2 separate regions of the Homo sapiens genome follow, and region 2 is linked to region 1. Evidence: promoter capture Hi-C in human tissues and cell types (Jung and others, 2019). All regions are on one chromosome and are shown on one strand. The core of a region is centred on a gene start or on the middle of the fragment in contact, and the rest is flanking DNA. Distances in the headings are between cores, read along the strand shown. Region 1 holds the start of DCTPP1 (dCTP pyrophosphatase 1). Region 2 holds the start of CORO1A (coronin 1A).

Region 1 (3,327 bases), core at 470-2,969:
CCCTGATTTTTCCTGAGATGCTTACAATGAAGGAGCGTCAGATTCTCCCTGAATTGAACTTGCCCTTTCTTGCCTCACTGCCCCTGCAAATGTAGTTCCCATGTCTGGAATGCCACAGGCAGGTCCTCTACAGAATACCTTCCTTTCAGCCCCAGAGGCAGAGGAAAAGGGTTGTTGGGCCAGGCGTGGTGGCTCACCCCTGTAATCCCAGCACTTTGGGAGGCCAAGGCGGGTGGATCACCTGAGGTCAGGAATTTGAGACTAGCCTGACCAATATGGTGAAACCCCGTCTCCACTAAAAATACAAAAATTAGCCAGGCGTGGTGGGGGGCACCTGTAGTCCCAGCTACTCGGGGGGCTGAGACAGAACTGCTTAAACCCAGGAGGCGGATGTTGCAGTGAGCCGAAATTGAGCCACTGCACTCCAGCCTGGGCGACAGAGCGAGACCCCGTCTCAAAAAAAAGCCAAAAAAACAAAAAACAAAAGAAGGGAAAAGGGTTGTTGCCACTGCTTCTTCCTAGACGGGACCTGTCCTGATGCTTTCACACCTCACACCTCTCTCTTCCAGGAGGCTGAGTGCCCCTAGAGGGCAGGGACCCGTGAGTCCTCTCTGCATCCCAACAACAGCAAAGAGCCTAGCAATCAGGAGGGGAAACTGAACCCATGAATGTTTGAAGACCAAATAAATGCTCCCCTCCCCTCCCCCACAACTCAGACTCTACCAGGAAGCTTTCCATCTACTCACAAGAGTTCTGCCAGCTCCCCCACTTCCCCAACCAAGGCCAGGAGGAGATTCCGAGGCTGATGGAACTGTTCCCAGTCTCGTTCCGCAGCAAACTCAGCATGGAGGCGGCGGCTGAAATAGGACAAAGGAGTGTAAGTCCAAGTCTCCGGGTTAGAGGGTGATGCAGGGGCCAGAGGCAGCTACCCCCGTAGTATGTAATGGGGCCTGGGACCAGGAGATTCTGCAACTAATTCATTGGATGGTATTGTGCAGGTCATTTCCTCTTTCCGGAACTTGGTTCCCTCATCTATAAAATGGGCGTGCCCCTGAACTGCCCTTAACATCTCGCCAAAACTAACAAAACCCTCTTCATTATTCCATCTCCTGCTGCTACTTCTGCAGTTTCCTCCACCTGGAATCGCCGCACATCAAAATGCAATTTCTCTTACAGAAGGTAGTTCCACAGACCCTTCCTCTAAGAAGCCTTTCTTGACCTCCTCCAGCAAAAAATAACGTCTCCCACCTCTCAGCACTTCGTTTGCCCCTCTCGTACCCCCGGCGCCTGGAGAGCAGAGGCGGTATCTGGTGCCGGTATCTTCCCAGGGCTAGGCTGAAGGGCGTTCCTAGTTACCACTCGGAGGCACCACCCAATTTCCCTTGCCTCAGGTGTGCACCGCTGCGCCCATTTTGCAGATGAGGTAAGAAGGCTCACCCAGGGACAGCCCACAGAGCCAGGACCCGAGCCCCGCTGCCAGCCCGCTTCCCGACCACGTGGAGGAACCCTCCCCAAAACGCGGGAGAAAGGGGCGACTTCCCCACCCCGAGCTGGGCCAGGCCTGCTTACATGTCCTCGAGCGTGGGCTCCGGGCTGAAGCTGAACCGGCCGGGAGCAGCAGTGTCCTCTCCCCCCGTGTCCCCACGAATCTCCCCACCGGCCACAGACATGCCGCCCACCGCTGCACCGCGACTTCACGGAAAACCCACGAGCCACGCTCGAAGCCCCGCCTCCAGAGCTCCGACCAATTACGGGAGTTCTCTATTGCCTCACGGGGCGGAGCCTGAGGAAAGAGACCAATGACTTTTGTGGAGTTTGCTACAGCCCTCCCCTTCCCTCACTGGACCAATCTGAGGGAGCTTCAAGCGCGCGTTTCTAGTCTTAGGCCCTGGAATTCTTCCGCTAGGCCCTGTGTCTAAAGGTAGAGGTACCAATTCGACCTGGGGAAGAGACGAAGGGCAGAGGGTGGGGGAAGCGCAGGCGCGTCACTTCGTTTATGGGCGCCAGAGGGCGCCAAAGCGAAACGGCAGCGGAAGAGGGCCCGTCAGGTGGAAAACCCTATAAATGAAAGGCCCTATGCATAGGTATTAAATCAGGGCTTAAGGACGTTGAGAAACCTCGAGGCCAACCCCCACACTATTTGGATGGGATTGAAGGGGAAGAGCGGAGTAAGATCAGACGGCAGTAGGACTTCAGCTCCCCGCCATCGCTGTGTCCTGTGGTTGAAACGATGGAGGTCGCCCCATCCCTGTCCTAAGGGAGGCAGTAGGCCCCAGCGCAACGTACATTGCCCTGAAACACGTGGCCCCTTATGGTCTGGCCTGTGCCGGCCTCTCCAGCCTCATGGGTCCCCAGCACGGCTCCTCCACCCCACACACGAGAACTCCAGGCTCCACTCACACCAGGGAATACGCGAGGTGGCGAGTCACAGGGTTGCTGCTTTCAAATCAGAACCACTGAGTTATTGGCCATGGGAGGAGCAGAGATCTTTATGAAACCCTAGAACAGGTGTAGTCTTGCAAAGAATGATTTATTATTGTACCCTTATTAGGGCTACTATCTCTGATTTCCACGTTTAAAGAGGCTTCCAGCTTGCTGGAAGTGAAAGCGTAAGAAAGCGCAGGAAGAGGCAGAGTCAGATTTTGGAAATTAAAATCCCAAGGCTGTGACAATTGCAATTCTAGGTATATGCCCTAGAGAAATTAATGAATATGTGCAGAGAGACACATGCAAGAAGTTCATTACAGTTTTGTTTCTAAGAGTGAAAAAAATTGAAAATAAAATGACTATCAACGGAAGAATGGCTACATGGAAGTATATTTATACAAATGATATTATCCAGCAGTTAAGATTGGATACATGCAACAGAAACAAGTTTAAACTGCTTTTAGCAAGAAAAAGAAATCTATTATTTTTATTTTTTAAATTTTTTATAGAGACAGGGTTTCACCATGTTGCCTAAGCTGGTCTTGAACCAGGATTGCTGGATTGGGCTCTAGCAATCCTCCTGCCTTGGCCTCCCGAAGTGCTGGGATTACAGGCACGAGCCACCCCCACCGGCCACAAGGAATTTATTGTAAGGATACAAGAGTGTCTCCAGAATACAGTGGGACCTCAGGAATGAACTGGAACTGGGGTGGCTGTTTTAAGCATTTTACATATTTAATCCTCATAGCAACTAATTTAATCCTCACAAAAACCCTATATGGTAGGTAATATTGTTGTCATCCCCATTTTAAAGATAAGGAAACTGAGGCCGGGCGCGGTGGCTCACGCCTGTAATGCCAGCACTTTGGGAGGCCGAGGCGGGCGGATCACGAGGTCAGG
Region 2 (3,327 bases), core at 337-2,836, 250 kb before region 1:
CATAACTTTGTGAGGTGGGCAGTTCAAATCTTATTAATTCCCCATTTACCAATGACAAAATGAGGTTCAGAGAGATTAGCCCTCTTGGCCAAGATCGCACAGCCAGTCAGTGGCAGAGGTGGGACTTGAACCCGTCCCTTGCTGTTCCTTGAACTTCTCCACACGACAGGGCTGTCCCTCAGCCTACAGGTCACCCCTCTAGCCTTGCCTGTTGGCTCTTCCTAATCCTTTCAGGCCCAGCCCAGATACTTTTTAAACAAGAATGATGAGAGCTAACTTTTTTTAAAATGAGACGGTCTTGCTCTTTCACCCAGAGAAGACTGGGTGATAACAGTGGCTCAATCTTGGCTCACTGCAGCCTCTGCCTCCAGGGTTCAAGCTATTCTCATGCCTTAGCCTCCTCAGTAGCTGGGATTACAGGGGTGCATCACTACACCACGCTAATTTTTGTATTTTTAGTAGAGATGCGGTTTTACCATGTTGGCCAGGCTGGTCTCGAACTCCTGACCTCAGGTGATCCGCCAGCCTTGGCCTCCCAAAGTGCTGGGATTACAGGCGTGAGTCACTACGCATGGCTGAGAGCTAACGTTTATTAAGCACCCGCCACTTTCTAGATGAGGTCCTTACTGACTTCCTTGGGTTATTTTAGGTAATCATCCCCATACCTCTTACGTGGCAGGTATGACTGTTACAGAGGGAGAAACCGAGGCTGAGAAAGGCTAAGTAGCGGCCACACCTCACTCAGCAGGTGACAGGCTGCGGTCGCACTCATGACATAGTCTGACTCTAGAGCAGGCCTTTCCTGCCCGCTGTTGCTGCCTCCAGAAGCCTCTCTGAATCCAAGGGTGGGAACTATTCCTCCTTGCCCTCGAGCCTTCGCCAAAGCCAGGGCTTGGAGCGGCCGTGGGCTCCTCCTCCTTCCCCCAGGCTGGGCTCTTCAGGGGCGGAAACCTGCCTGGCTTGCCTGCCTTGCTCGACCCTGTAGCCCCTGGCACGAAGTAGGTGCCCGTGATGCCGGATTATTTCAGCAGGAGGGCAGGGGTGTTCCCGATGAAGCCAGGAGATCCAGGGAGGAGAAGCGACTCCCGGGGCCACCCATGCTTAGATCTCAGAGCCAGGCAAGAGCCAGGTCCCGGGGGTCCAGGAGCGCGCTCGGGGCTCCTCCTCGCCCGCGCCCCCCGCGCCCCTCGCGCCCCCCGCGCCCCCCGCGCCCCCTGCGCTCGCGTCTGCGGGGCCGGGAGGAAGGGGCGGCGCAGCCGGGCCGGGGCGGGCACCGAGGCCTGGCGGGCGGGCCTGGGGCGCTTTCGTGCCTGCCAGGGAAAGGCTGGCGAGGAGGCTGGGGGCGGACGCAGGGAGGAAAGAAGCAATGGGGTGCTCTTGCGTTTTGACATTTTAAAAAGAAGTTTAGATTCGCTTCCCGGAGCCGGGATGGCAGCCTGCGCTATGGTTGGGGACCAACGTGGTGCACGGGCAGGGGCCGGGGAGAGAGGCGGCCGCAGCGGGAGCCCGGGAGCGCAGGGCGGGCCTGGAAGAGCTCCGCCCCAAGGGGCGCGGCCACCCCGGAGGCGGGCGCACGGCTGCTTCTCATTCATTGTCTTGACAAGAGCATCTTCAGCGGGCGAGTCCCCGGCTCCTCCAGCTCCTTCCTCCTCTTCCTCCTCCTCCTCCACCTCCGGCTTTTGGGGGATCACTGTCCTCTCTCGGCAGCAGGTGAGGCTGGGCCTGGGAGGCGCGGGTGGGCCGGGGCGAGGGCCACCTGTGGGGCGGCGCGCGCGTGGGAGCCGCGGGCTGCGGGGGCGCGCGGCTGTCACCGCGACCCAGCCAGCGCCGGGGCCAGGTAGCGGGCGCAGCAGCCCGTGGGGGGACGCTGCTTGGAGTGGGGGCCGCCGGGGCCCCAGAGCGCTCTGCGGAGGCGAGGGCTAGGGACCACCGCGGCCAAGATGGAGGTGGGTGGCCGGGGGTCAGCACAGTGTCGAGGGCCCGACTCCCCACGGAATTGAGTCTCGGGGAGGGTGGGGACGAGGGCAGGGTGGGGTGAGCGGGGCAGCTGCCCTGGGCTTGGAGACAGGAAGGGGTTGAGAGCAAAACAAGAAAAGACCAAGTTCCCCTTTCCGTGGTTTCCGGGCCTGGTACCTGTGGTGGGGGAGGAGGCAGGGTGGGGCGATGGCTTCCTGTCCCCCACCTCTGGTCCGGGGCTCCCCTCTCTCCAGATACAGGCTGCTCCTCAAGACTGGGGCTCTTCACATACGCTCCTCACCGCTCTTTGGGCAGGCCGACCTAGCAGCCTCTTCGGGAGTCCTGGGGTGGCCGGGGGTGCTGGAGCCCCCAGTGAGTAGGCGAGGCTGAGGCTAGGGGCAGAGGCTCTGGGCATGGCACCCTCCAAGCGGCAGCACAGGCCCCTTCCCTGAGCAGGAAGGTGATGCGGTGGCACAAGGTCGCCCCTGGAGTTCCTTGCTCCCCACCCAGACACTGGGGGAAACCATCCTACCTGGACCTCAGAGCAGTCGGAGTGGCCTCTCCCTTCCTGTGTGCAGTTTACATGGGGGTGGAGATGGCTCTTAAGGGCACCTGCTTTTCTGAGCGGAGGCGAGAGGCAGAGGTATGGGGAGGAGGAGATACCTGGACCTGAGCCAGAGACCTGCTGGGGAAGCTATCCTGCCGCCTCACTCCCCTCAGGCAGCCCCCACGCCACTTCCTCCTGTGTCCAGCCCCATGCCAGCAGGCGAGGGAGGCCAGCTCCTGTCCCTGCCTTTAGGAAGCGCTGTGTGGGTGTGAGGGAGGTGGGCTCTGGACACGGTAACTAAGAGAGAACCCACCCTCGGAGCCATCTGGGCTGATGACGCCTGAGTCTGAACCATTAGGAAGGACGGGCTCTGCATCCATCAGCCAGTCAGTCAACAAACATGCAGTGGGGCAACACCACGCCAGGCTCTGTTGCAGAGGCTGAGGGTACAGATTGAGAGGGTGGCTCAGAGTGGCCTGGGGCCAGGGAGAAGGGGGCTTGCAGGTTAGAGGGAAGGAGAGGCTGGGGAAGGCAAGCAGGCATCAGCCACAGAGGGAAGAATAGGGAGCCCCTGGAGATGATGCTGGGACCTTAAAAGCCAGACTGAGGGGTGTCCTGGGGGAGGTGGGGACCACTGGAAGATCAGAGTTGACCTGAAGGGAGAAATGCTCTTATGCTGTGTGCCCCCAGAATGAGCCGGCAGGTGGTCCGCTCCAGCAAGTTCCGCCACGTGTTTGGACAGCCGGCCAAGGCCGACCAGTGCTATGAAGATGTGCGCGTCTCACAGACCACCTGGGACAGTGGCTTCTGTGCTGTCAACCCTA

What was found. Contacts are between HindIII fragments. The study calls those that stand out against the background at their distance.
Region 2: a contact is called between the fragment with the promoter of CORO1A here and the fragment with the promoter of DCTPP1 in region 1, in 1 of the 25 tissues and cell types used here (heart left ventricle).

What each region holds. Positions count from the first base shown.
Region 1 is chr16:30,428,311-30,431,637 of GRCh38, forward strand. It overlaps DCTPP1 (dCTP pyrophosphatase 1), which reads right to left and starts at 1,720. Exons shown (of 3, transcript NM_024096.2): 1 at 1,570-1,720; 2 at 747-857. The coding sequence starts at 1,670. RefSeq lists enhancers at 1-323, 324-824, 1,578-1,657, 2,058-2,167. The HindIII fragment of the contact is 14,232 bases long and covers 1-3,327 here.
Region 2 is chr16:30,182,016-30,185,342 of GRCh38, forward strand. It overlaps CORO1A (coronin 1A), which reads left to right and starts at 1,587. Exons shown (of 11, transcript NM_007074.4): 1 at 1,587-1,710; 2 at 3,194-3,327. The coding sequence starts at 3,195. CORO1A-AS1 (CORO1A antisense RNA 1) reads right to left here and starts at 2,773. Exons shown (of 2, transcript NR_186359.1): 1 at 2,489-2,773; 2 at 1,378-1,756. RefSeq lists enhancers at 340-449, 1,868-2,408, 2,409-2,950, 2,951-3,327 and silencers at 1,170-1,279, 1,420-1,879, 1,910-2,019. The HindIII fragment of the contact is 26,104 bases long and covers 1-3,327 here.